Linked DNA regions of Homo sapiens: region 2 is linked to region 1. Evidence: promoter capture Hi-C in 16 types of primary human blood cells and fetal thymus (Javierre and others, 2016). All regions are on one chromosome and are shown on one strand. The core of a region is centred on a gene start or on the middle of the fragment in contact, and the rest is flanking DNA. Distances in the headings are between cores, read along the strand shown.

What was found. Contacts are between HindIII fragments. The CHiCAGO score rates a contact against its expected background, and 5 or more counts as called.
Region 2: a fragment that was not itself captured here is called in contact with the fragment with the promoter of STRADA in region 1 in 1 of 17 cell types (monocytes); the score reaches 6.8 in monocytes.

Annotation. Positions count from the first base shown.
Region 1 is chr17:63,740,320-63,743,709 of GRCh38, reverse strand. STRADA (STE20 related adaptor alpha) reads left to right here and starts at 1,911. Exons shown (of 13, transcript NM_001003787.4): 1 at 1,911-1,969. RefSeq lists silencers at 1,629-1,748, 3,252-3,390 and an enhancer at 3,286-3,390. The HindIII fragment of the contact is 6,891 bases long and covers 1-3,390 here.
Region 2 is chr17:64,511,537-64,514,908 of GRCh38, reverse strand. CEP95 (centrosomal protein 95) reads right to left here. Exons shown (of 20, transcript NM_138363.3): 4 at 551-661. Among named protein-coding and RNA genes, the nearest start is that of CEP95, 6.2 kb to the right of the region's middle. The HindIII fragment of the contact is 1,475 bases long and covers 898-2,372 here.

The DNA.
Region 1 (3,390 bases), core at 662-3,161:
CCAGCCTGGGCAATAGAGCAAGACTTCCGTCTCAAAAAAAAAAAAAAAAAAAGAGTTATACCCATAGGAGTGTCTTCTGTTACAGACTGCTAAAACAGAACAGTTCTGAGACAATATGTTTTCTCTACCCATTTGTAATGGCTGCAAGAAGTTTAGCATCTTTTCAGACAGTCTCTCTAATACTCGGTTCCAAAAGACCACATGTGAAAGACCCTTCAGTAGAACACTGCTAGAAATTTTACTTCTCTGTTTATACTCTGTTGCTTTGTGAGTTTACCAAGTTTGCTCCTGAGAGTGGCATCTTATTTTGAGAATGAGAGCATGTGAGGGTAGCCCTTAGCAATGTCAAAGCACTCGATAAAATCAAAATGATGTGGCCCAGCACAGATGGCTCACACCTGTAATCCCAGCACTTTGGGAGGCCGAGGCTGGTGGATCACCTGAGGTCAGGATTTTAAGACCAGCCTGACCAATATGGTGAAACCTCGTCTCTACTAAAAATACAAAAATCAGCCAGGCGTTGTGGCGTGCGCCTGTAGTCCCAGCGACTTGGGAGGCTGAGTCAGGAGAATTGCTTGAGCCCAGGAGGCAGAGGTTGCAGTGAGCCCAGATCACGTCACTGCATTCCAGCCTGGGCAACAGAGCAAGACTCCATCTCAAAAAAAAAAAAAAAAAAAATCAAAGTGATGTATGTAAGATCAAATGAGAACTCATGTGCATACAGGTCCCACAGTTTCAGGGGCATATTTCTTTTTTTCTTTTTTTTTTTTTTTTTTTTTGAGACGGAGTCTCGCTCTGTCGCCCAGGCTGGAAGTGCAGTGACGCGATCTCTGCACACTGCAAGCTCCGCCTCCCGGGTTCAGGCCATTCTGCTGCCTCAGCCTCCATAGTAGCTGGGATTACGGGCGCCTGTCACCACGCCCGGCTAATTTTTTTGTACTTTTAGTAGAGACGGGGTTTCGCCGTATTAACCAGGATGGTCTCGATCTCCTGACCTAGTGAACCACCCGCGTCGGCCTCCCAAAGTGCTGGGATTACAGGCGTGAGCCACCGCGCCCGGCCTTCCAGGGGCATATTTCTATAAGTCCCTACTTGGATGTAGCTAAACTCCTCCCCCAGTCTTGGAAGTTAGGACGGTCTAAATCTGTGTCAAAGCTCAGAGCTGGCAAGAGCGAGTGTTCATTACCTGATGGTATATATCCGCGTTTTGGATACCCCCTCCTGCGCACGCGGGGGATAAGTCACTGAAAAACCTAGTCTCACAGGAGTGAGGCTTAGTTCATCGCTTCCTCATTTCTCAAGCTCTGCATAACCTGGCTTGGACAAACCTGATAGGTTTCCACAAACGGCTTCAGCTGTGGATGAGGAAGGCTTCGGGGGAAAAAAAAAGATACTGAGGGGACAAGATCGTTTTCATTAGTTGAGCTATTTTCCTTGTTTTACAAATAGTGGGGAGCAAAGAAAGGATGGGCTTCCCCTTTGCAGCTTGTTGTCTGGTGCCCGAGAGGCCAAAGTGAGGGGCATTTGAGATGTCGTCCAAGAAAAGTGCGAGGCGGGTTTTCCATTAGAAGTCCTACCACATGAAATGAGAAAAACACAATTCTCAGGAACAGCCAAGTTTGCCTTTCTCTGGTCCTTCATTGTTGAAGCCACCTGCTTCCCCCTCCTGCTGCGGGGGCGGAGGCTGTAGGCGGAAGCGCTGCGCGGCGGGAAAGACAACGGGAACTGAGAACCGCTCTCGGCGCGGCGGCGGCTGCTAGGGCCTGCCGCAGCCGCGGCCACTCGGAAAGGGCGGGACTTCCCCGCAGGGCGGGGTGGGGCGGAGCGCTCTATCAGTCCTCCCGGTCGCCCCACTGCGCATGGCACGTTGCGTACTCCCCTCCCAGCAACCGGTCTGGCGGCGGCGCGGCAGTAAAACTGAGGAGGCGGAGCCAAGACGGTCGGGGCTGCTTGCTAACTCCAGGAACAGGTACCTGCCTGGCGGGGTGCCTGGTACGCTGCCGGGGCCAGTCCCTCCTGGCTCTGCCACCGATTCCATCTCCCCAGGCCCGGGCCTTCGTCGGAGCGGCCATCCTGGGCTCACCTCACCCTCCACGGGCCCCCTTTTTAACCCGCGTCCTCGACTCCCGCAATGAGGCGCCGCAGCCCGAGAGCAGAATAGGCTTGGGCCTGGCGGGGAGACGCTGAAGCGGAGTTGCCGGGCGAGAGAGGCGGGCTCCTGCTTTCCCCTTCCTCCCCACCCCCTAGGACTTCCAGGTGGGGAACCTAGGGCTGGGTGCCGGTTTGTCCTGTTCAGGCAGAGTGGCGGCCGACCCCGGTCCTGGGCTCCCCGCTGTCCCCAGCCGCCGCGCACTTTGGGCTGACAGGCAGCGGGTCAAGTCCTCGTAAGGACACAAGATCCAGATGACTCCCAGAATCGGCCTAAACGAAGAGCTCATTGTCTTTTTGTTTTCCAGAAATGTTTTTTGGGTGCCTGCAGGGGATTTGGGCGCCGGAGATGGGGGTTGGGGATAAGGAAGAGAGCTCGAGGGAGGGGCAGTGGGTAGGTAAAATTGTTCATAGTTCTCAGGAAATAGGGAACTAACCTCTCTGCCCAGCCTTCTCCTGTATCCTAACATACTTTAACTTGACTTTCCCGGAGAAAGAGCCGTTGGAATTTGCCCTTTTCTTATTGTAATATCTGTTCAAGTAGAAGCATGTTCCAATACGTATATGCGACGTTAAGACAATTCTTCATTGACACTCATACCTTCCTGAAGACACCCAGGACTGTTTCTTGTCCCTGAGAGTTAAGGAAGAAACCAAATTTGATCACCTGCCAAAAGCCTGTGAATTCAGCCTTTAGTTACAGTGCTGAACTGGTCAAATCTGTCCCCTACTTTTTAATCAGATTTCTTAGAGGTGTTTTGGCTGGAATGCAGTGTTTATAGTTGTGGCCCCAGAAATGGAGGAAGTTTACTCTGGTTTTTAGAGCGCAGGCTTTGGAACAGATTTAATTAGTCCCCTACCACTTATCTGTGTGACTTTGGGCATTTAACCTCCCTGCACACCTGAATTTCCTGATCCGTAAAACAGAGATGATAATACTTGTGAGCTGCTCATGAAGCATTTAGCACAGTGCCTGACACGTAGGAAGTTTGCCATAAATGTTTGCTGGGTTTATTATTTTCTCTCTTTATTTTTATTTTAATTTTTTTGAGATGGAGTTTCGCCCTCGTCCCCCAGGCTGGAATGCAATGGCGCGATCTCCGCTCACTGCAACCTCGGCCTCCTTGGTACAAGCAGTTATCCTGCCTCAGCCTTCCGAGTAGCTGGCATTACAGGCACCCCCCACCACACCTGGTTAATTTTTGTATTTTCAGTAGAGACGGGGTTTCACCATGTTGGTCA
Region 2 (3,372 bases), core at 386-2,885, 770 kb before region 1:
GATAACTTTTCAACATAAGAACAGGTAATATATTATTCCATTCGTGACCAACAGCATTATTTACTTAATCTCAAATTATTAAGACAGTTAAGTTCTTTCACTTTTTGCAATGACAAATATCTGAAATATTTAGGCTGTCACAAATGTAAGTGCAGGCTAAAGACACAAATGCACCAATTCTTCCTGTTGATGCCTCAGTAACATCCAAATATTTACCATAAATAGCAGTTCTGACACACGAAATTTTGGAGAAAGAAATTTTATGCAATCATAGGACAATAAATAATTTAGCCAGAAATTTATCTTTCTAGTATAAATTAGTTTTGAAGTAATTTATGAGCAACATCCAAGTTGATAAAGAACATGATGACAGTCTAAGACAGTTTCCAACCAGCTGGAACAATAAGAATTTGAAATTTACAACTACGGTTATCAGGTATACTGTATTAGTGAATCTGCTTCCTATGAAGAAAAATACACAAAAAGATAAAAGGCAAAAGGGACACATCATAAAAGGTAAACCAAACCAAATTTCCATTCTTAAACTTACTTTTCTCATGAGATGTTTCACTGATGCGTTCTGTAAGATACTCCAACAAACCATCAAATATTTCCAGGAGATTCTTAATAGATTCTTTATCTCCTTTCACTATATTTTCTCCTGGAGACAGAATATAGAGCTATTAAAAAATTTAACCATGAAATCTGAAAGCTTCATAATCTTGAAACTTGGATATAACATTGTGAAAATGCTATTTAAGAATACAGGCGATACATACCAACTTACAGCTCCTTGGAGATTAAATAAAAAAAAGAATACAGGTGAAACAATTATAAATATTAAGAACAACAATTTCCTGCTGCCTGATTATATTTGAAGAAAAAAAGGGGGAAGCTTTAAATATGGCGTCTAATAATTCACTGGCATATTCCTTCCTTTTTTGGAGAAGCAAAATAATTGGACTTAAGAAAACATGTCTAGTAAGATTTATACCAAAATATATTGCAGCTAAACAGAACTTTACCAGATTGGTGGGAAAAAGTGGCAGGAGAGAACACTTTCAGATTGTGGTATCCTATTCTAAATGGTGGTTTGTTCAGAAGATTATAGCAGCAGAGTAACATCAAAACAACAAAAAAAAACAATAAACTTGTTGGGATACTTTCATCAGAAATTCCTGAATTCTCCACCATAACCCCCCATATTTGTTAACTCCTCATTTTGTATAGATCATACCATTTTTCTGATTAAAATCCTTTCCCTGGCTCCCTTTCTGAAATATAAGCCCTGCATATAAAACCTTTTTAAATCTCACTCCATCTTCAGCGTCTCCAGCTACATCTCTTACCATATCCACTTCATATTCATAACTTACACTCATAGATCATAGCACAGTCCCTAGCACAGTACCTACTCCGTAACAGATTTTTAATATAAATGATTAGGTTGAAATGTTGAATAGAAATGGGTTGGCAAAAAGCATGGAAACTTGACATATTTAATGTCACCTGAAATGGACTCCAAATCAACCTCAGGTATAGATAGTACTTAACCCTTGTGACACTCTGATTGTCCTTTGGGAGATCATGCCTGGCATTCTCATGAGTTCACACCAATATGGGAAAAGCAGTGTAGAAATTTGACATTTGGGAGAATCTAGCCATTCGTAACCTCAGCCATGATGCAAAACAAACCTAAACCAGAAATTTGACGTTTTATACTACTACTAGTAACGACAACGTTTGAGTTTTTTCGTTTAAAACAATGAACCAGAAATCTTGGTTTTGGACGTGTTTTTCCGGCTTAAAAATACCTAAGTATATCCCAAGAGCATCCTCAAAACTTTTCAGTTTCTAGGATGGGGAGTATACTGACAACCTAGCAACTAAGACTGCCAGCCAGAATGCAGTGCTTCATGCTGCAGGAGAAACTGTTTTACAATTTTTCATAGGGTGGGTGTAATCTGTCAAAGACAGCTCTGCATTAAAGAGTTTTACAAACATGTATGTTTATAACCCTGCTATAGTATGTTTAACAAGCACAAATACCAGAACTTGTCCTACTTGGGTGATAAAGCAATTACAAATTGCAAAAAAAAGAGGGAAACTATGGGAGTAGCCCTCAAATTATCTCCGAACTGATTTACCCATTCACTCACCTAGAACTGCATTAAAAAACTTAAGACAGAAGAGTATTTTATTCTCTTCGCAAAAATTTGTTCTTGTCAGTATCAAATTAAGAGATGTAAATCAGGACTTATCCTGATTAACATTTATCTCCTTTTACAACTATCAAAGAATAAATCAACAGTATAAATCCTCTTTTTGTGATTATAGTTTCACATTGTCAATATTCCCTCTATTCATAAGCTTGAAATAACTTACTGGAATAATCATTCATTTCTAAACATAAATGAAATACACATAATACAGTGATTTATAAATATATTTGGTATGCTTAGTTTTAGAATACAGTATAGTATACTTTATTTTGGAGATTTAATTACAGAAAAAAACTTCTGAATAGATAACATGGTTCAAAATTCAGCAAGTGCAAAAAGTATACACTGAAAGTTCTTGTCCCTTTGTCCTGCAACCCTGAGGTTCCCTTTGTTGGAAGCAATCAGTATTACGAGTTTCTTGTATATGCTTCTAGAGAGTTCTTCCGATTGCAAACAACTGCAAATACTTCTGCACACCTTTGTTTTTACAAACACTAGCATACTACTCTGCACATTACCATTATAATTGTACTACATTTTTCTCGCATCACATATGCTAGAGATTGTTCCCAACACGGAACATTGTGCACAAAGAGCATATTCAGTCATCTTTTACAGCCACAGAGCAGTCCACTGTATGCAGCTATCATGATTTATCTAACCAATCCCTACTAATGGACATTTAGGTGTTTCTAATTTTTAGCTATCACAAACAAGTAGCATTAGTATGCTTTAAAATAAAACAATACGGCCAGGTGTTGCGAGAAGTCAGGGACCCCAAACAGAGGGACCGGCTGAAGCCATGGCAGAAGAACGTGGATTGTGAAGATTTCATGGACATTTATTAGTTCCCCAAATTAATACTTTTATAACTTCTTATGCCTGTCTTTACTGCAATCTCTGAACATGAATTGTAAAGATTTCATGGACACTTATCACTTCCCCAATCAATACCCTTGTGATTTCCTAGGCCTGTCTTCACTTTAATCTCTTAATCCTGTCATCTTGTAAACCGAGGAGGATGTATGTAGCCTCAGGACCACGTGATAATTGCGTTAACTGCACAAAATTGTAGAGCATGTGTGTTTGAACAATATGAAATCTGGGCACCTTGAAAAAAAGAACAGGATAACAGCAATTGTTCAGGGAA